Regions from separate parts of the Homo sapiens genome. Here all the other regions are linked to region 1. The links are contacts of gene promoters, found by promoter capture Hi-C in blood cells and fetal thymus (Javierre and others, 2016). All regions are on one chromosome and are shown on one strand. Each heading gives the region's core, a stretch centred on a gene start or on the middle of the fragment in contact. The rest is flanking DNA. Distances are from core to core; before and after follow the strand shown. Region 1 holds the start of NTF3 (neurotrophin 3). Region 2 overlaps ANO2 (anoctamin 2). Region 3 overlaps ANO2 (anoctamin 2). Region 4 overlaps ANO2 (anoctamin 2). Region 5 has its middle 60 kb from the start of KCNA5. Region 6 overlaps ANO2 (anoctamin 2). Region 7 overlaps ANO2 (anoctamin 2).

The links. The method cuts DNA at HindIII sites, captures the fragments that hold promoters and counts their contacts. A CHiCAGO score of 5 or more calls a contact.
Region 2: a contact is called between a fragment that was not itself captured here and the fragment with the promoter of NTF3 in region 1, in 1 of 17 cell types (endothelial precursors). The highest score is 6.0, in endothelial precursors.
Region 3: a contact is called between a fragment that was not itself captured here and the fragment with the promoter of NTF3 in region 1, in 1 of 17 cell types (megakaryocytes). The highest score is 5.9, in megakaryocytes.
Region 4: a contact is called between a fragment that was not itself captured here and the fragment with the promoter of NTF3 in region 1, in 1 of 17 cell types (endothelial precursors). The highest score is 5.1, in endothelial precursors.
Region 5: a contact is called between a fragment that was not itself captured here and the fragment with the promoter of NTF3 in region 1, in 1 of 17 cell types (activated CD4 T cells). The highest score is 5.8, in activated CD4 T cells.
Region 6: a fragment that was not itself captured here is called in contact with the fragment with the promoter of NTF3 in region 1 in 1 of 17 cell types (endothelial precursors); the score reaches 5.5 in endothelial precursors.
Region 7: a contact is called between a fragment that was not itself captured here and the fragment with the promoter of NTF3 in region 1, in 1 of 17 cell types (endothelial precursors). The highest score is 5.7, in endothelial precursors.

What each region holds. Positions count from the first base shown.
Region 1 is chr12:5,430,327-5,434,160 of GRCh38, forward strand. It overlaps NTF3 (neurotrophin 3), which reads left to right and starts at 1,782. Exons shown (of 2, transcript NM_001102654.2): 1 at 1,782-2,016. The coding sequence starts at 1,999. RefSeq lists an enhancer at 2,599-3,124. The HindIII fragment of the contact is 3,984 bases long and covers 1-2,334 here.
Region 2 is chr12:5,904,299-5,908,132 of GRCh38, forward strand. The region is part of intron 3 of ANO2 (anoctamin 2); the gene reads right to left. All of the region lies in intron 3 of LOC105369621 (a long non-coding RNA gene), which reads left to right. Among named protein-coding and RNA genes, the nearest start is that of ANO2, 39 kb to the right of the region's middle. RefSeq lists an enhancer at 3,737-3,834. The HindIII fragment of the contact is 1,513 bases long and covers 1,285-2,797 here.
Region 3 is chr12:5,878,576-5,882,409 of GRCh38, forward strand. All of the region lies in intron 3 of ANO2 (anoctamin 2), which reads right to left. It overlaps LOC105369621 (a long non-coding RNA gene), which reads left to right and starts at 3,315. Exons shown (of 5, transcript XR_931583.3): 1 at 3,315-3,405. The HindIII fragment of the contact is 4,681 bases long and covers 1-3,834 here.
Region 4 is chr12:5,844,812-5,848,645 of GRCh38, forward strand. The region is part of intron 4 of ANO2 (anoctamin 2); the gene reads right to left. Among named protein-coding and RNA genes, the nearest start is that of ANO2, 99 kb to the right of the region's middle. The HindIII fragment of the contact is 1,543 bases long and covers 1,267-2,809 here.
Region 5 is chr12:5,101,526-5,105,359 of GRCh38, forward strand. No RefSeq gene overlaps it. Among named protein-coding and RNA genes, the nearest start is that of KCNA5, 60 kb to the left of the region's middle. The HindIII fragment of the contact is 885 bases long and covers 1,777-2,661 here.
Region 6 is chr12:5,754,931-5,758,764 of GRCh38, forward strand. All of the region lies in intron 10 of ANO2 (anoctamin 2), which reads right to left. Among named protein-coding and RNA genes, the nearest start is that of ANO2, 190 kb to the right of the region's middle. The HindIII fragment of the contact is 1,979 bases long and covers 1,007-2,985 here.
Region 7 is chr12:5,733,445-5,737,278 of GRCh38, forward strand. The region is part of intron 13 of ANO2 (anoctamin 2); the gene reads right to left. Among named protein-coding and RNA genes, the nearest start is that of ANO2, 210 kb to the right of the region's middle. The HindIII fragment of the contact is 1,675 bases long and covers 771-2,445 here.

The DNA of each region.
Region 1 (3,834 bases), core at 532-3,031:
CGCCCAATCCAAACCTTCATGGTGCTGTGTGGCTGGGTGGAGGGAACGACTCGGCAGCCTCTTCTGGCCCTGAGGAAGACGTCGATATTTTGGCACGAGGGGAGCCACTGAAGGACTACCCTACCCTTGCGAGGGACCGCAGGAGGTGACGCCCCTGGGCCTCGGTGGGCGCTTCTGGCGGTTTTCGATGTGGCAACCCCCATCAGCCAGGATAATGATGAGGCAGGTACAATCTATCTAGTACGCAGCCCCCAGACTCCCCCCTCCCTTCCCACCTCCCCATCCAACCCCCCAGCTACTCTCTGCGGCCGGTTGGTCCTGAACTGGTGGGTGCAGTTCCGATGTTTAACCAAATTCTCAAGCAATTTCAAGGTATTTGGATTTTTTGAACCTGGGCCCTAACCGAAACGCGGAACGGCTTGCTTATTAGACACCTCGAACGACAGGGCAGGGAGGAAACGGGATACTCGCTGCCCTTCCCAGTCGCGCGTGAGTCAAAAGGTCCTGGCAGGAGATGATGTGAGGAGCGGCTGAAGTGGCAGGGAGGAAGGGATGAGGGGCTTGGAGCGGAGGTCCACCACGCAAGGACTCGGGAAGCGGGCAAGTGGGCAAAACTCTGCTTCCGGGCTCTCGATTTCTCGTTGATCACTAAGTGGTATTTTTCCCCCTTCTCTCGATGGCAAATGGGCGAAATCAAGATGACTTAACTTGGTAAATTTAGAGAGAACGGCTCGGAGCAAGTGAGGTCTAACGGGCAGCTAAAATTATCTCCAAATAAGAGATTTTGACCCCCTCCCCCTATCCTCTCCTCGAATGTATCCACCGGTGGGGAAGTGAGCGTCATTACTTTCGGGGCGCCACGAACAGGTTTGTTTGTTGCTCGCCTTTCCTGCTTCTCGCGCTGTCCCCGCGTGCAGACTGGTGGGTGCTGGGCGAGTGATTAGCTGCAGGGCCCCATCCTAGTTTGGAAGGAAGGGGTTTAGAAGTTGGAGGATGGGTGAAATGGGAGGCTGCGATCCATCTCCCTCTCCCTTCCACACTCAAGCTCCCGCAAACACGCGCGCGCACACACAGCCCCTCCCTAGTCCCTCGGACCACCCGCCCCCACGCCCCTCTACCTTGACCTCCCTTGACCGCCGACACAGCGTCCTGGGTGCGGGTCCCCGGGAGCGGGGAGTTCGCCGGGGAGCGATTGTCCTTGGGCGTGTTCGTGCTGTGGGGTGGGGGGAGGAGTGGCGGGTGGGCTTGGTAGGGGGTGGGGAGAGATCTGGAGCTGGAAGGGTCTAAGGTTTGGAGGAGGAGTTTACGCCTCAGACCTGATCCTCCTGAGGAAAAAGGCAGGAAAAGGCCCTGATGCCTTGTAAAGAAAATCTTGAAAGAAAAAAGATCAAAAAGAAAAATTTCAAGAAAAAGAACCACTAAGAAAGGCTGAAGACACTAACATGTAACCTGTTACGATACATTTAACGTTTCGTTTTTTCCTGGATCTCTAAAAGGGAACTCAAGGGTGGGGGTTACTGAAGAATACTACAGATTTGGAAGTTTTTGTTGCTGTTGTTGTTTGGTTTGGTTTTGTTTTTCAAGAGGGGCCAGGAGAAATGACCCCTTCCCCGCCACGGGTCCCGAAGTGAGGGCGGGGGGGGGGCTCTGGGGCGCGGGCGCGCGCGGCGCGGCGCGGGCCGGCGGGGGAGGGCGGCGCGGCGCGGAAGGGGTTAAGGCGCTGAGCGCGGAGCCATCTGGCCGGGTTGGCTGGTTATAACCGCGCAGATTCTGTTCACGGGACTCAGAGTTGAAGCTCCTCTCCCTTCCGAACAGCTCCGCGCACCGCCCCGCGACGCAGCCCGGCGCAACTACTTTCTTCTCTCTCCTTTCTTTCTTCCTCTCCTTTTTCCCCTGCTGGGTAGTGGCTGCGGCGGGGTGGGGGAGACTTTGAATGACCGAGCTCGCGTCCACCTTTCTCTTCATGTCGACGTCCCTGGAAACGGCCACACGGATGCCATGGTTACTTTTGCCACGGTAAGGGGAGGCGGCGGGCACCTTGGGTGGGCAGGTTTGGGGATGGGGGTCCACGTGGGGAGGGATTTTCCAGTGGACTGGTGCGGGGGGCCCCAGATCCGCATCCCGCCCCACCCCCATCGCGCCGCGCTCACTCACTTTCCCGGGCTTGTGTCTTCCCCAAAGTTTGCGCTGGGATCTGCTCAGGCCGAAGCGCAACCGCAGCCACCCCGCTACACACACACACACACACACACACACACACACACACACACACACACACACAGACACGGACACCCTTCTCCACCTCCTCCCCTCTTGTCCCTCGGCTGCCCAAGAAGCTTCCCTCAATCTGGGAAAGTGATCAGGTTTAAGGGACCTGGATTGGAAAGGGTGGGGGCAGAAGAGGGGAAATGGGGACGACGAAAGAGCAGGAAAGAGATTCAACAGAATCAACCACCCACCACTCCCAACCGACCCGCCTGCTCCTCCGAGAAAGCTCCTAGCGCATCCTATAACAAAAGGGGGTGGCAGACAGAACTCCGGGCGGGGAGGTGCCGCGGCAGCTCCCCTGCACACGCCCTGCACTCTGCCGGCCGCTGAGCCTGATTCTCAGCTCGCCCCAGCACCACTCTGGCCCGGGCGTGGGCTGGGGGGAGGGGACGCGCAGCTCAGGACCCGGAACCTCGCGTTCCAGTTTTGGGAGTTGGGACTCACTGCCACGCGCCGCGTACCTGCGTTGGAGTTCCCCGAAAGGGTTTTTTCAGAAAAGACCTCGCGCCCCGGGCTCCTCTTGGCCAGCGCCCACCCGGTGGCCACCCCACCCTGGGCCTTTGCGCAGATGTTGGAGCTCCGTACGCAGCCCGCACATCTGGGACCCCTCCGGGGAGCGGCGGGCACCCGGGCCCGGCCATCCCAGGGGATCTCCTTGCGGTATCGTCCAGCCTGTTCTCGGACTTTGAGCGGTGGCGTGGGAGGCCGGGAGACCTGGGCACCCGCGCAGCCAGCCAGGTCGGAGTTTAAAGGTCCCACGACGGACCGAACTGTCCCATTGCCCCAGAGCTTTACTCAGTGGTGGATGCTCCTGATGAAATTTGGGACGCTTGGGAGTTGAAGGTTAGGGACAGGAGGGGCGAGGGCCGAGGGCATGGGATGGGGGAGTAGGATTCTGCTTGTTGCTCTCCGCGGGAGTGGGTGCGCGTCCAGGAGGCGCTGCTTCTTTGCGGGAGTTTGGCTGCTGCGTTCATTCGTCGTCTGCGCTTCAGATGCACGGCACTGAGACCCTTGCGTCCGACGGTGTCGGGGCTGTGGACTAGAAAGGATCCCTTTTGCTGGAATCGAGGCTGGGGTGGGATTGCCGGTGGGGGAAACACCGAAAAGATCGTCTGGCCTCGGCCTCTGGCGGCGGGCGGCAGGTTCTGAGTCCGAATGGAGGTTGCTCCCGGGAGCGCCGGGCTCAGAGCTAGAGAGCTCGGGAGACTGTGCGCCTGTGGACTTGTTTATGTGTGTGAAGAGGCGGGGGCGAGGGCCTGCTGAGAGGGGAGGGGAGCCTGGAAGGGGTGGGTGTTTCTCCTGGAGCCTGATGTTTGTAACTCAGCTGATTATGGAGTGCACTGAGCGACCTGCTTTTTAAATAAAGAGGTGCCCGCTCCTACCCCGCAAAACAGCGAACGAGGAGAACATGGAAGCGCTCTGTCCTAAACGTCAGGATGGGAGAAAGTTGTAACATAGAGGAGACTTTTCCAGAGGTCCTGTTTTCACAACACTCAGAAGTTCTCCAGCGTACTCAGCCTGCCTCCCGCCTGCCCTCAATTCCTTTTTGACATGTCACACAAAGAA
Region 2 (3,834 bases), core at 791-3,290, 470 kb after region 1:
CCCAATACACCACCATTCACCTAAGGCTTTGATCCCTGAGAAAAATGCAGCTGCCGCAAAGCAGGGTTACACTGAAGGGTCTGAATGAGTGGGATTGGAAGGAGGGAGAGTGATGGGAAAACCACATGGAAGGGAAGCCACAGAAGAGGAAGGCTGAGTGTGCCCAGGGCAGACGCCTCGCAGGCCCACCATCACCTCTCCTGATGCCTGTAGCACGAATGAGCGGCGCACACACCTGTGGGTTTATCCCAGTACTGCTTCCGGGGGCAGCTGACACTCCACATCGTCCTGTCCTCCCTGCCAGAGCCCCAGGTGACCCTGGTACCACACGGCCCCGACATGCCACAGCACCCGATGCTCCTTCTCGATCTTCAAATTTTGCAGTGTCATCCTCTAGCCTTGCTCCCCCTGGGAAGCCTTGCCACCTCTCACCCCTGCCTGCTGGCTCCAGACCCATACACCTGTCTCAGGGGCAGTCCTGAGCAGACTGATTCTCACCACAAACACAGCCCAAGGGTAATTAAAAGGTATCTGCAGGGATCCAGCTCTTTCCCAACCCACAAGCTCCCACCTAGGCTGACAGGAGGGAAGACAGGATCAGCAGAACAAAGGGAACAGGGAACAAAATGATAAGAAGAGGATACTCTCAAGTTCAGAGGTGTTCTTCTCCTCCCCTGAACTTTCTTAAGTGGCTGACAATCCAAACAGTGGACTCTAGGACTCCCCTTTCCCCATGCCAAGCTCAGACAGCAGGAACCTCATCCCTGGAGAGGGAGGACACGGCAGTGACTGAGAGCTCAGGCTCAGGGTTTGAATCCCTCACTGGCAGCAAGGGTTCCCAGGGGGGTGAGGCTGGGGGATAACGCTGAAAGAATTGAAGGGAGCACCAGGTGCTGTTGCGTGTTAGGGCCGTGTGGCACCTGGAGCCACCTGGGGCTCTGGCAGGGAGGACGGTGTGGAATGTCAGCTCCCCCATCACCCTGGGGGCAGTGCTGGGATGACCCTGATCAAGTTATGTAACTTTGGTTTTCTTATCTGCAAAATAGGGGCAGTGGTAGTATACGCTTCATGGAGTGGTTTTAAAGATTAAATGAGTTACTTTATGTTCCTAGCACAGTAGAAGCATCTCTTATTACTAATAACTTCAAAAGCAGAAGTACAGGGATCAGAGAGGGAGGGGCCCAAGATTCATGAGGCCCCAGTGGCAGGAAAGAGAGAGCAGGTATTCCTGGCAACACTGAATAGGAAGTTCCTGATGACTGGAAAAGATCCCACCACCAGAGAAGCTTTCAGGACAAGGAGACAGTGCCTGACATACTGTCCCTAGGAAATCATGTCTGCGTCTTTTTTCTGAAGAGCCCATGACAAATCCAAGTCCATGACAAAGTAATCATTATGACCTTGGAATCTGCCCAATGGCACAGAGCCAGAGAGGGTTGAAAGAAAGAAGAGAAGGCCAGAACTAGAAAAGAAGGAAGGGTGGAAAGATACAAAAAAAATCTGCTAACACCCCAGGGCTCAACCTCTTTCCCCAACAGGTCACCAAATCCCCAAAACACTGGACCAGATGACAGCCTGTTCAGGGACTCAGGTTCACCCTACAGGTCTCCTCTCTCTCACCTTCTCTCCCCTATCCCTTCATCCCACCCCGGCTTCTAGCTTTCTCTCTTCGGGCGTCTCCTCAGGGTGGGTGGCTCTGAGCGGGCTGCAGATTGCTGTGGTGTTTTCTTCCCAGACTGAGGAAGGAGATGGGAGAACCAAAGGCAATACTGCTATTGAATGAGAGGCAGGAATTGGAGAAGGTTTCAGTGCAGGAAAAGGATAGGAGCTGACACACAGAGATCCCAGGCTGCTATAATTGGGGGCAGGGCTAGGAGAAGGCACCAAGGGCTTCCTCTCCAGTTGGCCTTCCCTGTCAACTCAAGCTCCTGGGCATCTCTGCCTCCTGGAGCAACTCTACAATGTATTATCTTTGCTAGGCATTATGCTTTGAATCATTCAACAAACAGCACTAAAGGCTATTATATTATCAATATGTCACACATTGTTAAAAAAAAAAAAAAAAGAAAAAGAAAAAAAGAGGCCATCCATGGTGACTCACACCTGTAATCCCAGTACTTTGGGAGATGGTAGGATCACTTGAGGCCAGGAGTTCAAGAGCAGCCTGGTCAACAGCATAGCAAGACCCCATCCCTATTTTTCAAAAATAAAATAAAGGCCAGGCGCAGTGGCTCATGCCTGTAATCCCAGCACTTTGGGAGGCCAAGGCGGGCAGATCACGAGGTCAAGAGATTGAGACCATCCTGGCCAACACAGTGAAACCCAGTCTCTACTAAAAATACAAAAATTAGCTGGGCATGGTGGTGCGCACCTGTAGTCCCAGCTACTCAGGAGGCTGAGGCAGGAGAATCACTTGAACCTGGGAGGTGGAGGTTGCAGTGAGCCAAGATCGCACCACTGCACTCCAGCCTGGTGACAGAGTGAGACTCTGTCTCAAAATAAATAAATAAATAAATAAATAAAAATAAAATAAATAGAAATAAAAATAAATTAGAAAGACACAGTCTCTGTTCTAAAAGTCTTCAATCCATTCAGCGGCAAGCATAGCTCTAGAAGGTGTACTAGGTGCTTTGGTAATGTTGCCCAAGTACAGAATGAGAGGCATTAGATGATGGATGGATGCAACATAGCATCAAATAACATTTTTAAATAACAAGAAAGTCCGTTTTCAATTATCCTGCAAAAATAAAGTCTCCGTTTGTTTCCAATATGTCTTTAACCTCTCTGATGCTAGCTAAGCTTCCTTCTCAACAAAGAGTAAGCAGGCCCCGGTCTCGGATCTCCTGCAGCCAACAGTATCCAGCTAGAAATGAATGATGTCGTTTTGTTTCGGTTGTGCCTATTTTTATAATTATTGTCTATCTGTTGGCCAGTGATATTGGTTCTCCATTTCTGATAATGATAGAATGTTTCCCTTTAAAATAAATTTAAGTTTCAAAAGTGAGCCAATTTAACAAAAATATTCAGCAAATAATAGTCCAGATAGTAAATGGCTACGCCTAAAATTAGGAATCTAGTAAGTAGTGGTATTCAAACTCATAATCATGGTATTCAAATAACCAGTATTTGTGAAACCTTTTACTCTGGGAGCCCAGAAAAGAGGCAATTGGCACATATGCCTTGAACTGTTAACTCTCTGTTCATGAATTTTCTAATTTCCTAACAAGACAGTAAACTCCCTGCACCTTCTCCCTTTGGGGATGCCTAATCCACTCATCAAGCAGTTTCATTCATTCAGAAAATAGGAAGGGAATTCAACTCAGCCCATAAAGAGGGGGAAAAAAAAAGGAAAATTGAAGCACAAAGGTAGACAGGGTGGGAGAGCCAACTTTGGCTTATTTTATGACACATTACAATTCATGAAGTATTTCGCCCATGAACGGTGTGGGCTACAGATCCCAGATAAGAAAATAGACCCGGCATGGCTAAGAACCTTGCACAAAGACACACATCAGTGAACCTGGCCCTTCACTCTCCATACCCTAAGTTCTTCTTGCTACATCGTGCTCCTGGGGAGCCCAGTGGGGAAGGCAGCTCCCACGCATACCACTGATGCTCTCAGCCTTCAGCAGGCAGAGCTGGGATGCCAGACCCTGCTCACAGGCGTGGCCTGAGTTGGTCTGAATGCAACCTCCCCAACTCCACAATGCACCGTGAGAGCAGTACATAGCAACACACACAAACTCGTAACCACGCACGGGCAGCGTGTGCAGGGAGCCAGCAGCAAACCCACACCAGCTCCGAGGACCCTGGGGCTTCCACTCTGAAGCCTTT
Region 3 (3,834 bases), core at 455-2,954, 450 kb after region 1:
AACATAGACAAACATAGACAACATAGACAAACACAGACAAATAACATAGACAAACAAATAACATAGTACCCAATACCAATAAAGCTAGAGATCATCGATCCCTCAATGAGCCAACAGATTACTGGGAACATCACATTCCCACACTGATTTACACAGCATTTTATGTGGCCATACAAACTTGCTGGAAACAGGATCTGTTGTGACTTAGAGATGCCAGGAAAGGCAGCACTGAGATGTGAGACTCCCTGAAGAAACACACTGTCCAGTAGTACCTTCACTGAGGGTGTGGTTTTCCATAGGAGATGGAGCAGGGAACAAACGCATACCTTATAACATTTTATCCTCAAGCAGATTGCTAATCATGTCCTGCTCAGGCTTAACATTTGGTTTGAAGAAAGAAAGAGAAATTGACCATCAGGAACACTAAAAGTGGGACAGTTGGTGCGTCTACAAGTGTGGAAGGCCTGCGAGAACATGACAGTGTTCTTCATCCTTCTCCACTTAAAACATGGCTTGACACTGAAGCTGTCTGCATTTCCTGCTCCCCAGGTATAAGGATGGGGAAAAGGGAAAGGAAGCAGAAGCAGGGTCAGAGCTAAGGAGCCACGTGAAGCTGATTCCACATAAACAATTTTTTCTTCAAATCATCAATAATCAGCAGATGAAGCCGCAGGCAGGTAAATAAGAAGGGACTGTACTCAAGCCCAAGAAACAAAGCCAATTTCAGAAGCCCTTCAGTTTCTTGGTGAACTTCTGACATGATAAGATAAAAGGAAAAGTCTAAATAAACAAGTTATTATAGCTCAGATACAGATCAGAAGAGGAAAAATAATCTTAGGGAACGGTATAGTCATAAGCACGTGCTAAGTAAGCTCTCTCTCTCGATACAAGACCTGTGTGAAGCACTAGGGTTACCAGGACAAAAGACACTATTCTCATTGTCAAGAAGCTCAATATCTAGGAGGGAAACAGACATGAAAACAAATTATTACAATATTTGCAGGGTGCAATACAAGTGGGGAAGAGGAAACCTAAGGGGTCAAAGAAGACTTCATAGAAGAGACAATGCTTGAGCTAAGACCAACATATTAAGAGAAGAAAGAGCATTTCAGATGGAGAGAGGAGCAGGGGCAGGGGCTGAAGGCAAGAAGCAGCATGACAAGTGGTTTGGTTTGACTCCAGCCTAGGGTGTGCATTTGGGGTCAAGTAAAAGCAAAGAGGTAGCCAAGAGACTAATTGTGAAAGCCTGGGACAACATGCTTAAGAAGTGTGAACTCGTTCTGAGGTGCTTAGAAGCCATTGAAAGATTTTAATGAGGAAATGGCTTAATCAGATTTGCATTTGGAAAGATCACTCTGATAGAGCATGAAGATGGTTTGGAGGGGCAAATCTAGAAAGAAGTTCAATCACACAAGGGTAGATAGTGAGTGCTGGAATTAGATTGTGGCAATGGGGAAGGTAAGGTAGAAACAGATACGGGAAATGGAATTGACATGACCTGGTGTCCACCAGAACACGAGAGGAGAGAGAATCTAAGGAGGCTTCCAGATTCTGTTGTAGTTGACAGGGAGAATGGTTAAGACAACCAGCAAGACAAGGAATAAAGAAGTCGCAGGTTTTACAGAGAAGATACTGAGTTTTTTTATGAAGACCTTAAACTTGAGATGTTTCCAAAACATAAATCCAGGCATTTATGTTCAGGAGACAGACATAAGAGCCTGGGGAACGCAGGATAAGTGCAGGTTAAAGAAGAGCATTTGAGAGTCATCGTAGGTAGTTAGATAGTAACTTAGGCCACATAAATGTATGAAATTGCCCAGAAAAGTGTGTGTAAGAAGAGCAAAGGAAAGGAAAAAGGAGAGAAAAACATCTGAAGACAGAACTCTGAGAACACTGATACTTCAATGACAGATAAGGAAGAAAGAACACATGAAAGAGAATAAGAGGAAGCCCATAGAGGCAGAGGAGATTCAGGAAAGAATCATGGGCTCCTGGACACCCAAGGGAGGGAAAATGTCAAGCAGGAGGAAGGAGTCAACTGTTTCAAATGCAATAGAAAAATCAAGTCAAGCAAGGATTGAATGGATCTTCTCAATTAATAGAAATACCAAAATAAATTAAATAATAAGGAGCAGATTAGGAGTGTTCCTAGAATTTAGTAGATATTTGATAAATGATGGGTGAATGGATGAAAGGACAGATGGATGAAGAGATGGATAGGTGGATGGATGAATAGATGGGTGGGTGGATGGATGGATAGATGGGTGGGTGGGTGGGTGGATAGATGGATGAGTGGATGGGTGGATGAGTGGATGGGTAGGTGGGGGATGGATGGATGGATGGATGAGTGGATTGAGGGGTGGAATGGGTGGGTGGATGGATGGAAGCGCAACTATATTGGCTACCCCAAAATGAATCTACTATCCTCATGATGGACTGGATTTATGATGATTCTTTCCAGAACCAGAGCAATGGACAAAGATGACCTCAGAGCATCCCTTCCAGAATAAGTTGTCTAGTATTCTACGTATGTCTACAGAAAAAAAGAAATGTGCAGTCTACAGAAAAGCAAGAAAACACTTTATAACTATTCTATTGAGAGGGGCCTTCCAAAGGTCACTCCATCTATCCCCCTCTCTGTGGCAGAATGTCAAGAGCAATTTTTAACACACACCATCTAATCTAAAGAAACCCACATATGCATGCATCCAAATCAGACTTTCCAGAAGAAAGGGAGGAGTACATGTGCATCTACCCTACCACCTCTTGCCTTCTGGCTGGGGGAATGGAAAAACTCATCATCAGTATAGCTGCTGCCCCTGGAGCCAAGGGCACAGCCACAGAGCCAAGTCTCTGTGAAATGCATCAGATCAAACTCAATGATCAATAATAAAATCAACAGCCTTCTCAAAGCCAAAGGGGTTGAAATTCAGAAGGGGCAATATTGTAATTTCTCCTGGGGCTATACAGCATGCTCATTTTTGAGATTTACAGCCTTTAACCAATCCTCTGGATGCAAGGCATCATGCTAAGAAGTCAAGGTTTTTGACTAGGTGAGAGACCAGGTTCAGGTGAGTCACAATACAACAATTAAAGGGGTTTATGGACCCCCAGCCCCCCATCACTCCCTCCAGCTCCAACAGGAGAAATATAAACCCCTTATGAGGGCTAACCAATCAAACCATAAAATCCAATAGCCATACAGTTCAGCTGGAAGAATGTTCCTTTGTTAAACAAACAATGTGTCTGGAACACTTTTTGGTCCATTGTTCCATTCCAGGACAGAGACTGAAGCTATAGAAATAAATTAGTGATTTCAATCATGCTCATCCTGGACTGATCCTACTGGCACATGGAAACTTCCTGGCTGGGGCTGAAGAAGAGAATTAACTCTTTCAGGCAAAGGTTAGAGATGAGTGGGTGGGTGGCTAGAGAAGGCAAAGAAAGAGAATTCAAATGTAAATAACTATGGCAAGATAAAGGCAGGGCTGAATGACACTGAAAACAGACAAGTATTTTTTTTCTTCAAGAGTCATTAAGAACAGCAAGGAAAGGAACAGTCAAAAGCATTTCTAGGTTCACACTGAGATTTTATCTGACCTTCATCAACTCAGTCACTGAAGTCTAAAGACCTATCCTACAGTCTAAAGAAATAATGCCTCCCTCTAACTCAAGCTCCCATCAGGGCCCCAGGTACACTAGAAGGAGGTGGATATAAAAAACACTGGGTTTGTGGTCTTCATGCTGCAAATGAGAAACAGTTTGGAGTTATTTTCCAGAATGAGACTTTCTTCCTCTTGAGAAGTTTCTATGCTGCTCTATCTTCTCTACTTG
Region 4 (3,834 bases), core at 788-3,287, 410 kb after region 1:
CCTGAAAAAAATTGAACCAGTTTTTGTGTGTTTGTTTGTTTGTTTGTTTGTTTGTTTGTTTTTACTACAAGGCTTCTCAAAACTTTGACTGTCCTGGTAAATTGTAATCATTAGTGTTTTCTGAATTTGTTCAACCATGAAATTTTTTTTTTTTTTTTTTTAGTAAAACCAAAGACTAGGCTGGGCATGGCACCTCACAGCTGTAATCCCAGCACTTTGGGAGGCAGAGGTGGGTGGATAACTTGAGCCCAGGAGTTCGAGACCAGCCTGGGCAACATGGGGGAAACCCCGTCTCTACCAAAAATTAGCCAGGCATGGAGGTGTGTGCCTATAGTCCCAGCTACTCAGGAGGCTGAGGTGGGAGAAACACCTGAGCCCAGGAAGTCAAGGTTGCAATAAACCGTGACTGTACCACTGCACTCCAGCCTGGGCAAGACTTTTTTGAAACTTTGTCTCAAAAAAGAAAAAAAAAATGGCCTGGCACTGTGGCTCACGCCTGTAATCCCAGAACTTTGGGAGGCCGAGGCAGTTGGATCACAAGGTCAGGAGACCGAGACCATCCTGTCTAACACGGTGAAACTCCATCTCTACTAAAAATACAAAAAATTAGCTGGGCGTGGTGGCAGGCACCTGTAGTCCCAGCTACTCAGGAGGCTGAGGCCGGAGAATGGCATCAACTCAGGAGGCGGAGCTTGCAGTGAGCCGAGATCGCTCCACTGCACTCCAGCCTGGGCGACAGAGTAAGACTACATCTCAAAAAAAAAAAAAAAAAAAATCCAAAAGAAGAACAAAGACTTTCATTCTAAAAAATATACTTTGAGAAATGCCATTCTAGACCACACTATCCACTACCTCAAGTCCAGTTATGGATTTTTCAGTAAAGTGAGAGAGCAGGAGCGTGGCTTTGGAGTCAGACAGACATGATTTTGAGTCCCTGACTATCTCCTTCAAGGTGTGTGCCCTTGGATAAGTTTATTAACCTCTCTGAGTTTCAATTTTCTCATCTATAAAATGAAGCTAACGGTCATATCTACCTCATGTCGTTGTTGTGAAGGTGAAAACAAATCACGTACATAAGGCTCTTACGAAATGGTCTAGCACATGGGATGCAGTATTAACTATATTTAAAACTCAATTAATTTATTTATCAACTTATACTTATAAGACTTTTGATCTCAAGATAATTTGTTTTGAGTGGCATAATTCAAAGCGGTTTTATGAATCTTTTTCCTCAAAGTCAAATGTAAGAATTATGAAATATGGACAAGCTTTAAAAGATGCTAATATCCTTCTTTGCAGACACCTCTTACTGAGGCAGAAGCTGTTACTTAAGCCAATTACTGTATTTGGATATAGAAGTATAAATAGGAAAATAATTCTTGAGTGGAGTAAGCTCTTCTTGACATGAGCCACATTGGGTCTCCTTCCACCATTCATAACAACGTGAGCCTCTACTTCTATTTCATCAAACAGGAATGGAACATGAAAAAGTCATCATAGACATGCCAAGGTCACGTAGGAAGATCCATGCACCAAGTCTCTTCCATAAAACTCCCAAACCCAATGACAACAAATAAACAAGACTACTCCAAGTTATCTTAGAATCTGCAAAGTGGATTCTTGGAATACAGAGAAAGCCAACAAGCCTACCAGAGACCTAGGTCTTCAATTGTCTGCTTACTGCTTCCTGCCCAGAAGAAGAGTGTATTAGTTTCATAGTGCTGCCATAACAAATTATCACAACATAAATTTATTCTGTCACAGTTGTGAAGGTCACAAGCCTGAAATCAAGGTATCAGTGGGGCTGCACTCCCTCTGAAGGCTGTAAGGGAAAAATTATTTCTTGACTCTTCCAGCTTTGGATGGCCCCAGGTGTTCTTCACTTTGAGCCTGCATAACTCCAGTCTCTGCCTTCTTCACATAATCTTCTCCCCTCTCAAATCTCCTTCTGCCTTTCTCTTATAGGGATACCTGTCATTGGATTTAAGTTCTATTCTAAATCCAGGATGATCTCATCCTGAGATCCTTAACTAATTATATCTGCAAAGATCTTTTTTCCAAATAAGATTATATTTACAGGTTCCAGGGCTAGGACTTGGACATATCTTTTTGAATGCCACTATTCATTCCCTAACAAAGAGGATTATTGACTTGGAAAGTACAAGCCTTGTGATGGTTCATTTTATGTGTCAACTTGACTGGACCATTGGGTGCCCAGATATTTGGTCAAACATTCTGGGTGTATCTATGAGAGTGTTTTGGGATGAAATGAGCATTTGAGTCAGTAGGCTGAGTAGAGCAGATTACCCTCCCTAATGTGGTGGGCCTCATCCAATCAGTTGAAGGCCGGAATAGAACAAAAAGGCTGACCTTCCCACAGGTAAGGGGAAACTCTTTCTGCCTGACTGCATGAGCTGGGACATCAGTCTTTTCCTGCCTTCAAACTTGAACTGAAACATCAGTTCTTGGGTCTTGAGGCTGCTGGAGCTTCTTCATTGGCTTTCCTAGTTCTCAGGTCTTTGGACATAGACTGGAACTACACCATCAGCTCTCCTGGGTCTCCATCGCATGAACTGCAGATCTTGAGACTTCCCAGCCACCATAATTGTATTAATCAATTCCTCATAACACCTCTGTGTGTGTGTGTGTGTGTGTGTGTGTGTGTGTCCTGTTGGTTCTGTTTCTCTGGAGAACCCTAATACAAGCCTCAAATCTGGATAACTGAGAAATAAGAGGTGCTGCAGTCCTGGCTGAGTAGAGTCCCTCAGGCCGGGCGAGCACCATGAACCAGGAAGAAGTCCTCCTGTGAAGCTTTTGCAAAAGCCAGGGCTACCAAATCAGAGTCTCTACAGAGACAATAACAAGTACCTGAGAACAATTTCCAATCATTTCCAAAGCTAAATGGAATTACCTTTCCCTCCTAAAGGGCCACTGAAGCTAACTAAAATGCCAAGTTTCTTTGCTTTCTAACTGGAATTCTATCAGCTCAGTGTGGAAACACCAATTTTTTTCACACTGATAAATAATGCTTAATAGCAATTACATATGTTTTCTCTTCAGGAAAAGAAGATAACTTATTCTTTAATAAATGCAGTTTAGTAGACATAAACATTTCAAAACATGGGTTCAACCGAAAAGAATTAAAGTGTCAGTGGCATTTCTGCTCGAACCGTTATCTTTGAACCCAGTTAGCCCCTCAGAAATTTTCACACATTACTCTGTATTCAACCCTCCCTCAACTACACTTTAACATTACATCCTCAGTTTTATCCAGAATCAGTGCAAACAATGGTCACATGAAGAACATTGCAGAAGCTTGTGTGAACTTATTATTGAAAACATAGTCCCTTGTATTGTTCATGTCATTTACAACAGGAAAAATTTGCCTCCTTTGGCAAAACAGATGCTGATTCCTATAGACGACTGTGAGCCACAGTCCTTTCTGTCTTGGCTACCAGAAAGCCCAGAATGCAACTCTGTCTCTCCTGCATCCATCACCCTTATTTTTAGTTTCCACTATCATCATTTCCCTTGCACTTCCCTACTTCCCCCCCTCCCCAGTTACATGATTCTTTTTATCTGTCCTTTTACAACCAAAATTCTTTTGGTTGTCATCCATCTCAAGTCCATTTTAGGAAACAGACTAAGACATGAATCAAGTAACCCCAGGTTAATGGTGGCAGAGCCAATAGTGGAACTCAAGGTGGACCACTTGTCACGTTTGCTGTCTCTCCCTTAAAATGGGTGCCTTCAAGCTCTGCCTCCTGCACCACGGGGCCCCAGCAGTCTTCTCACTGGCTTTCCCAGCAACTGCACCGCAGACCTCACAGGTGG
Region 5 (3,834 bases), core at 969-3,468, 330 kb before region 1:
ATCCTTGTTGTGTGGCCTTGTCTATCAGCCCGGGGAGGATATTCAATTAGATCAGCTCCTGTGATTTTTCTTAGGTCACCTGAAGTAGGTAGAGTTTGCCTCTGAACCAATAGGGATTTTTTTTTTCAGCCTTTGTCTTTGGGGCAAAGTTTCAGGCAAAAACTTAGGCTTCAATTAGGAGATCAATAATACCATCAGGCATTTGCTCTTAGCATGGATGCCTCCCTCTTCCTGGCGTCCATTTCAGCTTCCTGACCTTCTGTTTTGCCTCTTTAACTGGAGAAGGCTGAGGAGCTAGGGAAGCTCAGGGACTCCACTCTGGGAGAGTTCCATCCTCAGAGGAGGAGCTTCTCCAACCCAGGAGGCTGTGCCTCAGGAGAAGCTGGCCCTTCCAACGATGTTCTCTTAGCGCAGGGACTATGGAGGGACCTGTGTCATGCCAGAGTGGAGAAGAGTGTGGCAGAAGCTAGTTAACTCCAGCTCCAAGTGGGGATTAGCTTCCATACAGACAAAATCTGTGGTTGGGATGCTCCCTTCCTCCTCCCTCCCTTTCTCCTCCACCAAGTGCAAGGGTTTGCACCATTTGTATCAACTCATCAGTGCCCAGCACTGGGCTTTGTATTGTGGGTAAAATAGATGAAGAATTTTAATGACAGGGTCCCTGTTTGCAATTTTATCCAGTGTGTTTTCTTTCTCCCTCCTAAAAGGATAGGATCTTTTACAGACAAAGAGAAATTATTAAGGATTTTGTAAGCCCACTCAGTAGTTATCGTTGCTTAATAACCCTGCTCTAAGATGCTGAGTTTTGTGGATGATAACTGATCTCATTCTTTAAATATTTCTGAGTTCTAAATCAGCTGAGAATATACAAGAGTCAGACAGACGAATACCAAAATGCCATTTTTACTAGGAATTAAGCTGAATTCAACTAAGTGGTTGAGACAGATAGCCACAATTAGCCCTTCCATTATCTTGGAAGAATTATGGTTTGGAGTGTAGACATGCCCAATCTCAGTGTCAGGAAAGTGGTGCCAAAGAAAGGGAAAAGAAGAGAGACCACAATATGCTTAGTTGTTAATACACCAAGTCCGTCTAAGTAAAGGCCCATGAAGGGCCAGGACCAAGCCAGGGAGAAAGGCTGGACGTATTACTCAGTGGACATCTCAGCACGAAAGCATGAAGCAAGGGGAATGGCAGTTACTCTCTGGGGTAGGGAAATTCTCTAGTTGCTCAACTTCAGTTAACTTGGAAAGTAATTCTTCAAAAGATACATTAATAATTTGAGAGATCAGAAAGAACATTACTATCTCCATGTTGACTGGATAAACAAGACATCCACCTATTAAAAGTAGGGAAGAACACCTACCACACACAAAGATGTGAAAGTCTGAGTTCCTGTTCCTAAGGCTGGTCCGATGGAGAAGAGGATGAGATGCCCCATACTGGTGATGGAAATCACAGGTCACCATCAACACACAGAGCTCCATGTGTCATATACTGCTAGTTAAATAAATTTTAAAATTTCAGCAAAAAAATTCCTAAAGTTTTACTAGTGTTTGCCCTCTGACCCTTCTCAATGTTATGTTATTAGTACATCTTATAAACCACCAATAAAATTAACTAACTTATATATAACATTCAGTTCTCCCTACCATAAATAGCATGAAGACTCTTGCCTTCTAGAAATAAGTTTTTCTAGTGGCCTTTAAAATAAGTTTTTGTAGTGGCCTTTAAAAGAGTAGTTTAGAGGGAAAAATATCAGAGCACTAGAAAGTAAGCTTTCTTCAGCTATCTGCTCAATGTTTTCAGCCAGATTTCTTTGATATGTGTCTTTCCTTTCCAAATAATCCCTCAGTTCCTTTTACCTGGAGTTCAGCACTAATCCAGGCTACCTTCTAATATTGCTATCTGTCCAATGCAGGTCATATTTCCCCTATTGAGTTCCTGAAGGCTACATTTATGTTTTGTTTTTCCTTATAGCACCCAAAGCACCTAGAACAGCTGCTTGCATCTAGTAAGCACTTGGAAGCAAATGCATGTTGAAATAAATTGTGGAATTAATATTAGATTTTGGCTTAAAATAAAGCAGCACTCATCTTCCACGAGAAGGGCACATCCAACCCAATCTCTTGTTCCTTCTCCAAGTCCAGCAGTATCAGAGTTGACACTTTGGAGAATGATCCTCCTTTGAGATCCTTCAGAGTCAAAGGAAGAGTCGGTGGAGTCTACTGTCCTCAAGGCAAGGCCATGGAATATTAGAGCAGCGTGGTGCTTTAAAGATCACATAGTCCAACAGATTTGAAAACTGAGGCTCTGAGAAGGAAATCAAATTGGCCCAGGGGCCCCTGCTGGATGGTGAAAGAGTCAGTGTTGAATCTCTTTCTGTTACACAATGAGATCAGCTCATAAATATATATAAAAAAAATTCAACCTGAGTTAGGAGCAAAAATATTTTCTGGCTATTAAAATATTAAACTCACCAGAATGTGTCATTCCTTCAATTATTTAAGCTATTCAAAAGTATACTGTTTTAACATTTTTTATTCTAGATACTAACACTAAAGCTAAGAATTAGCTCTAGCACATTATTTACTGACTACACATGTTCAGACACACCTAGGACCAAACGTGTCCCCCAGGCATCATGACCAGTTAAGTAAAAGCTTGAGGACTGCGGGTCTGATCCTCTCCCCACTACAATAGGATTAGAAAGTCCTTAACTTCTCTTCCTACTATTGGAACCAGATTTGCTCTCTCACCACAGAAGCCCTTTTAGGAACAGCCGTGGGCCTGTGGGCCTTATCATTTATCACTTGTTTCAAGGGCTTAAACTTTGATCTGGGGATAATTTGGTATGTTTGAAAGAGGAATAAGCCTTTTGTCTAATCTAGGGAATAAAGTACAGAATCCAGCAGCTGGAAGTCTTGGGTTTATTTTTCTTAGGCAAACCCATGAATTTATCATCATTTCCGGGAGAAACAAAGAAGGGGTTCCAGGAAGCCATTCCCAGCCGTTGGGTACTTATTTAAAGAAAAGAGGAAGAAAGAGAGAAAGAAAAATAGCCTCTCAGGCTGAAGAAGTGCTGGAGACCCAGATCCCAGCAGATGAGAAGAAACAGGCTTTCTTCAACGTCAGCCTGTGGCAGGGATTTGATAACTTTCTTCTCCCAGCTCCCTGAACCTGACCTGAATGGTCTGCTCTGGGTAATCTGAATAAACTCTCTTGAGGTTCTATAGGGTCCTAATTTAGTGTGAGGGAGGAGAAGATAGGTTGTCAGATTGACATCTGTTGCTGTTCTGAGTAGGGTTTGAGGAGTCTAAGTCTTGGGAGACTGAGAAACACACGGACTCCAGCTCCATTCAGAAGCTGCATGGATTTATTTAGACACACTGGAATACTGACTTTTCTTGAACTTTAAAGGTCAGATGAACTCAGTATCTAAAATTGAGTTCTGGCAAAAATGATATTTCATCATATCTATTATTACAGTTTCTTATAAATGTAATTCCCTTTTGAATTGGTAGATTACTTTTATGCTAGTAACACGATGTTTCAAAGCACTGTTTTACCCATTTCTTCAAATGTTGCTGATTTAAAATACCTATTATATAGATCAAACATTAGGTTTTAAGCCTTGGGTGCTATGCCTGCTGTGAGTTTAAAACTGCTTTTGGAGAATTCTGCTTCTACTTCAAGTGGACTTTCTCCCTTTTATGACCTTAAAGGCTGAGTACTAGATGTGATATAAGTGAACTGAAGGAACAGGGCCCAGGTTTATCATCATTATTGTATTGCTTTATTCTGTCTGTTTTTGTTACATTTTCACAAAGTATT
Region 6 (3,834 bases), core at 746-3,245, 320 kb after region 1:
ATTTCTTCCCTCCTGCTAATTTTGGGCTTAGTTTTTTCTTCTTTTGTAGTTACTTGAGATGTAAAATTAATTATTTGAGATCTTTCTTCTTCTTAAATGTAGCCATTTACCACTATAAACTTCCTTTTAGTATTGCTTTTGCTGCCTCTCATAAGTTTTAATATGTTGTGCTTTCATTTTCATTTGTCTTGAGATATTTTCTAATTTCCTTTTTTGATTTATTCTTTGACCTAGATATAGTACTCTTGATTGGCAGGTTTTTTAAATTTCAATACTTTGAATATATCATCCTACTCTCTCCTCACCTGCAAGGTTTCTGCTGAGAAGTCCACTAGTAGCCTTATAATGGTTCCCTTGTTTGTGATAAGTCACTTTTTTCTTGTTGCTTTCAAAATTCTCTACTTGACTTTTGAGAATTCAATTTTTTTCTTTTTTACATTTATTTATTTTTATTTATTTTATTTATTTATTTATTTATTTATATTTTTATTATACTTTAAGTTCTAGGGTACATGTGCACAACGTGCAGGTTTGTTACGTATGTATACATGTGCCATGTTCGTGTGCTGCACCCATTAACTCGTCATTTACATTAGGTATATCTCTTAATGCTATCCCTCCCCCCTCTCCCCACCCCACAACAGGCCCTGGTGTGTGATGTTCCCCTTCCTGTGTTCATGTGTTCTCATTGTTCAATTCCCACCAATGAGTGAGAACATGCGGTGTTTGGTTTTTTGTCCTTCTGATAGGTTGCTGAGAATGATGGTTTCCAGCTTCATCCATGTCCCTACAAAGGACATGAACTCATCATTTTGTATGGCTGCATAGTATTCCATGGTGTATATGTGCCACATTTTCTTAATCCAGTCCATCAAATTCAATTTTAAGGTGACTCAGTGTTAACCTCTTTGGGTTCAATGTACTTGGGTACATTGAGACTTCATGAATTTGGATGTTCATTTCTCTTCCTAGATTTGGAAAGTTTTTAGCAATTATTCCCTTAATAAGCTTTCTTCCTCTTTTTCTTTCTTTAGTCTCCTTCTGAGTCTCCCAGAATGCATATATTGGTTCACTCTATGGTGTCCCATAAGATCTTAGGCTTTCTTCACTTTTCAACCTTTCTGTTTTTTCTGTTCTTCCGACTGGATAATTTCAAATGACTTGTCTTTAAGTACAATGATTCTTTCTTCTGCTTGACCAAGTATGCTACTGAAGTTCTGTATTAAGTTTTTTAGTTCAGTCATTGTATTCTTCAGTTCTAGGATTTCACTTTGGCTCTTTTTTATTATTTCTATATGTTTGTTGAACTTCTGATTTTGTTGACATGTTATACTCCTAATTGTGTTTAGCTGTCTGTTCTCTTGCAGCTCATTTAAGACAATTATTTTGAGTTCTTTGTCAAGCAGATTATGGATATCAATTTATTTAGGGTAAGTTACTGGAGTCTTTTTCAGCTCCTAATAAGGTAGTATCGAGAATTCCTGATTCTTTGTGATCCTTGTAGCCTTAGAGTGGTGTCTGTGTATTTGAGAAGTAGTCACCTCTTCCAGTTCTTACTGACTGCTTTCAGCAGGCAAAGACCTTCATCAGTCATGCTGGTCAGAGATTATGGGTGGATCAGCTGCCAGAGTAAGCAGGCAGTGCCTGCGGGCAGACTTAAGCTGGGTGGGGTCCAAGGGTGGATCTGCTGCCATGGTCCGTGGGTGGGCCTGTTGCCAGAGTCTGTGGGTGGGCTGGCCTGCTGCTGGGTATGTGGGCAGGTGGGCCTGCTTCCAAGGTCCACTAGAGGACTGGGCTGCTGCGCCACAGACAGAGATTCTGTTGAGATCTGCATGAGAGTAGGGCTGCATTTGGTTTCCATGAGCAGTCAAGTTTGCTGATGGGTCCACGGGCAGATGAGCAGGGCTGCCCCTGGGTCTGTGGGAAAGTGGGTGGGTCTGTCACCAAGTCCCCTGCTCTGTGGAAGTGGTCATGCCATTGGGGACATGGGAAGCCAGCTTCCTGTAGGGTCTGTATATGGGCAGAGTTCCTTATGAGCAGTGAACAGGCAGTGCTGTCACTAGGTGTTCAAGTGAGCAAGGCTGCTTCCAGGCCCATGGCTGGTGGTTCTGCTGCCAGAAAGCATGAGCCTGCATTCTCAGTGAAGTTTTTCTAGGTCTTGAGCTCCACCAGGGTTCTGCAACCTCTTACCTGAAAACCAGAGCTCTCATAAAGGTCTATTTTGTATATAGATGGTTGCTAAACAGGTGTTTCAGTAGAAGGGTGAGGCCTGGGGACTTTCTATTTTGCCATCTTGCTGATGTCACTGTATTTCTTTATTTCTATCTTTCTGCACTTAAAATTTTTCTACTTTGTTAATAAATTACTTTTAGAATGAAAAGTGATTTCTTGTAAAAAGAAAATTTACCAACTCATATATTTTTATTACAAGTTTATAAAGTTTGTAAATTACCAGTTAAGCCTCTAAAATACAATTTCCCCTTAGATAAATATTGACTATGGATGCCTGATGAGAAAAGTACAATCTACCAAGGAGCAATATATTTAATTTCCCAAAAGCCTGTGACGTAAAACACAAGAGGGAAATGAGAGCTCTGTCCACACATTGATAGAAGAACTAAAGGGTAAGAAGAACAGTGAATAGGATCTATTTACCCACCACCACAGGTTCTGCTTCCACTTATGATGCAGACAATTGCAAGAGAATATAGTTCCCAGCCTAACAACAAGAGAAATCTGGATAATCTGTGAAATTATAACTTTGCTTGAGCTCATCAGAGAGCTGAAGTTGTAAGGTAACCAGGAGAACTGAATTTTTTTTAAATGCCAAGTCCGTCCAGGGAAAACTGGGATATGTGAATAGTTTTACATTTGACAGAGAATGGGAGGATGCGATAGTCCCTGTAAAAGTAAGAAGAAATAGCTAAAATTTTAAAAATTCAGAAAGATGAGTATAAGTTAGCATGACAGAGTGTAATAACTGGAAGCTTCAAACACAAGAGCAGTTTGCCCTTATGCACAAGGTCATTTCCATAGACCTCATAAGGAAGATAATGGGTAAGGTAAGAGACCAAAGAGAGTCAGTCCCCTTAAGTTGCACACAGGTATGAAAAACCATGCACTTCCTGGAATCTTCTCTTATTCAAATCGAAAGCCTTAAACGGAAGAAGGGACCTGACCCAAGGACCTAGGCAAAGACCCACTGCTTCTGAAGCCCGAGATGGGTTGCACATACAGCCGATGGTACTTGGTGGAAAGGGTGGAAACTCTCCTAGGCCCGAGATTCTGCAAAATTACAAATTAGAAGTCTGTTACTGCTGAGGAAGGGCAGGAAACTGTCTCCCACCCAAGAATCTGTACCAGTAAAGGACAGAGTTTAATTGTGAGGGGCAGAGGGAGGACATGAATTCTAAGAAACCGTCATTTCTGAGGCTTGAGTGCACAGAGCCTGCCTAAGACTGAGATAGGCATGAGAACAAAACTGCCCTATTTCCCTCCACAGCCCCACTTATAGTAAACAAGTGATAAGCTCCATTTATCACTGAGCAACAAACATCAACAGCCTGATTCTAGGGGAGCGGGAGGGGCATGGAGAAATACCCCATTGTGGCACAGGCATGCAGGGACTGCTGAAATCTGAGAGTGGTAAAGAAACAATGAGGACCAATTCAGCACTCCAGGGCTCACACAAAGCATAAGGTAATAGCGTACTATCACTGAAGGAATCTGAAGTTTGTAGTGCAGTGCACTGAAGGTGACTCTTGCAACAACAAAACCTCACTCAACTAGATTGACTCAACTCTCCTCACTACTGACCTGATGGAATGGAAGAGG
Region 7 (3,834 bases), core at 358-2,857, 300 kb after region 1:
TTCCAGCTCAAGAACAAACATCTACAGGTGTGAGGACTTCATGTTCCTGCATCGTTTATCGATAACTCCTGGGCAGGGATTCAGGTACTGGCTCACAATGGGCTCTGCCATTCAGGGAACACACATGTCCTTATCCCTGTCCATATGTCAGAGATTCCAAAGGTCAACGGGCCAGGCTTTTGACCTGTCTCTGGCTTTCCCAAGACACGCCATGATGCAGGAGAGGACAGACCATGTAAGTGACTAACAAGCATAACTAAAACAACTGCAGGCGGTGCCATTCTATCCTCACCCATTCTCCGAGGGGACGTCAGTCCCACCCCTTCCAGGAGGACTTCTCCAACTGTTGCAACATACCTACCAGGTGGGGTCTCCTCCCTCTCTGAATTCCGAAACTTTTATAGCTTATACCACACACTGTAGATCTTCATTACATATTTTTCTTTTATTTTTTCCTCGCTGTTTTGCATGTGAGAGTCTTCTTATCCTAACATAAAGATCAGCTACCTGCTCTGTATTATTCTATGTTTTGCACAGTACTTGGCACCATGCAGAACACACAGAAATCTCTGAACGCTTGTAAAGTGCACTTGATTTTGTCTCTCACCTTCATCCGTTCTCCAACACAGCATTTCCTAATGTGTGTGCCAAGAGAATTTCAGCTAAAAAAGGATTCCAAGGTCTAAAAGACTGGAAAACACTAGAACGTATCGACTTTCTGAGAGTCACAGTGAGCACATTCAAAACTCTGAAAAGTACTACTGTCAAGAAGCTTGCTTAATTTTCCTAAGCACATCATTTCCCGCAGAGCAACTTTTGCCTGTAACAATTAATAACCTGCAGGAATACTTAGAGAAGTATGGTTTGAGGTTCTCCCCCATGGCCTCTGAAATTTGGTTGCTTTTCTTCTACATTATTCCAATGGGAGATTTTAATTAAAAACTTAGCAGTATCTTTCAGTGAGTTCCAGAACATGGGTTCTACATCTCTTCAAGCCAGAGGAGCCTCTCCCCTTCCAGACCCTGCACAGGGGCTAAGGGAGGCACCCTCAGCTGACCGACAGGATGTTTCTGATTATCTCTGGCTTTCCAGGACATGATGTGGCAGCACACAGAGGAGTTTGCTTGAATCCCTCTAGGTGTGGCTGTGGCTCACCTCCCCCCATGCTGGGCCCCAGTTCAAAGCTCCCTCATCTTTTTTTTCTTTCTTTTTTTTTTTTTTGAGACAGAGTCTCACTCTGTCGCCCAGGCTGGAGTGCTGTGGCATGATCTCGGCTCACCGAAACCTCTGCCTTCCAGGCTCAAGCAATTCTCCTGCCTCAGCCTCCGGAGTAGCTGGGACTGCAGGCACATGCCACCAGGCCCAGCTGATTTTTTTGTACTTTTAGTAGAGATGGGGTTTCACCATGTTGACCAAGCTGGTCTTGAACTCCTAACCTCAGGTGATCCACCCGCCTCGGCCTCCCAAAGTGCTGGGATTACAGGCGTGAACCACTGCACCCGGCCATAACCCTTAACTTTTTAAAGCAAGCCTAGCTTCCTAAGCACTCAGACAAGAATCCGAAACTCAAAGAAGAGACAGGCTGCGCTGCACTCAGCTGAAGCAGGCCTGACAAGGACCTCCCTCTTTGCAGCCAAGCAAGTGGGGTGAGGTTATGGAATCCCTCAAATTGGACAACTGAGCTCCTGGCCAGAGCAGAATCCAGCCCCCGGGAGGGCTGCTTTGACACACCCAGCCACGGGCAGATCAGCCTGATACTCCTGATGTTCCCCAAACACAACAGCACTGGATGGGTTATCTGATACCAAGTCATCACAGATCATCACCCCTCCCATCGAGACTCTGGGAACTGTTTCCACGTGGTCAGTCTCCCCAGGAGCCAGCTGGGAGGAAGAACCCAAGCCTGCTCAGGACCACATTTGTCTGATGTAAAGAGGTAAGTCCAGAGATACATCCAACAAATGTCTTCAACCAGGAGTCATCAAGCACCTGCTATACTCTGAGCTCTTTCCAGGCACTGAGGCTATACTGCCAGTCCTAGACACAAGATCCCTCCTTCCCTGGAACTTTTCTCCAAGTAGAGAAAAGGTACAGTGAGTAAACCAGCACACGAATGAGAAACTAGCAGATGAGGATAAGAATAGCAGAAGAAATAAAGCAGAATGGCTGCTTCAGATTGGGGAGTTGGGGGAGGCCAATCTGAAGACGGCAATGTTTTCACTGAGACACAAAAGCCGAGAAGACAGGCCTTGCAGAGTCTGGGGGAAAAGCAGTCTGTGCAACAGGAATAACCAGGGCAAAGGCTGGAATGAGCTCGAGACAGAATGAAGGCCTGGGTAGCTGGAAGGTCTAAGCAAGGAGGAGAATGACACAAGCTGAGGTTAGAAAGGTAGGCAGAGGATTTGGTTTCCTGTGAAACCAGAAAGAAGTCACTGAGGATATCTAAGCTTTGATGTTATACACGAGGGGTGGGAGAGAGATGGGTGGGCAGGATATCTGTGTTCAGATAAGGCCACACTCTCTAAGAGGCCCAGGGTATTCCTGATGTGACAGAAGGTAATGGGCAAGAGTGGCCCACTGAGCTGAAGATTATCCCATTTTAGAGTATAAAACTCTGGAGGTCTGACAGATCTCCCTGCAAAAAGGACAAACAGGATCAGAGGAGTCCTTCAATAAGTCCCATGATGATGTCCACAGGGACACCCACAGGCAGACCTGCACTGGCCCAGGGGGGTGGGCCGTTGGGCTTGGTTGCTTCCTTCCTTCCCCACCCTCAGAAGAAAGCAGTCTCCAGTCTTCTTCTGGCTTGTCTCTGGTTTCCAAGCCGGACTTAAGCCCTACTGCTTGTTCTACCCCTCCTGGGGTGACCCACCTGCTGAAGGCACCCAGGTGGGAGGACTAGAGGGTGCACAAGCTTTGGTGTATGTCAGTTGGCACCCTCCTTTCCCCTGGGAAGCAAGTGTTTCCTAGTGGATACCATGGGGAAGAAAGAAGTCTTAAGGTTATAGAAAGCTAGACTCGCAAGCATTCCTGATACTGGGAGGTGTCTGGTTAAAATAGAAAAAACTTCTAATCATGGCTTTCAAGGACCCCTGCCTCCCTCCCTCCAGTGCCCAAGTAACATCTGCCTTCCACTCACTCCTCGTTTTGAATGTGGGTTAAATGCTTCATATAAGTCCTAGGACCCTTGTTCAAGTCATTCGTACCTTGTTATCCTGATCTTCATGCCTTCCCATGGCCTGGGAGATACAGATTAGCAATCAGGACCCTCCCTGACCCGGTCACCAGACTATACTTTTTCCTTGTCACCACTGCATACTGAGCCCTGTCCCCTGAAGCCAACTTGGCTTTCAAGATATCTTGTTGTTGCCTCGCTTTCCCAGGTCAAGGCTGCTGCTGTTTCTTTCTCGTGGGCACCCCTTCTTCCCTTTGCTGCCCATTAAAAGCCAACCAGTCTTCAAAACCCTGATTTTTTAAGAATTTCCTCTCTACATTAGCCAGAGCAATTTCTCTCACACACTCTCCATTCTATTCTAAATATTTATAGACCAAAGAGCACCCTGCTGGATGCAGCCCTTTGGAGATCAGACACTACACCTGAGATAATTCCATATTCCATACAAAAACCTAGTATGTAATAGATGCTTAATGGCCATGTTCAGAATTGAACTGAAATTGATGTGTGCTAATCCAAACTAGAAATGCATTAAAGGAAAAGTTGAGGCTGGCCTGTGCACATGTGGGGCACGCCAGTCACGTTACAGAACCAACCAGCCTTGCAGCAACCTCACACGGAGATCCCATCCGGAAAGTCTCCTTAGGCCCTGGGTAAAC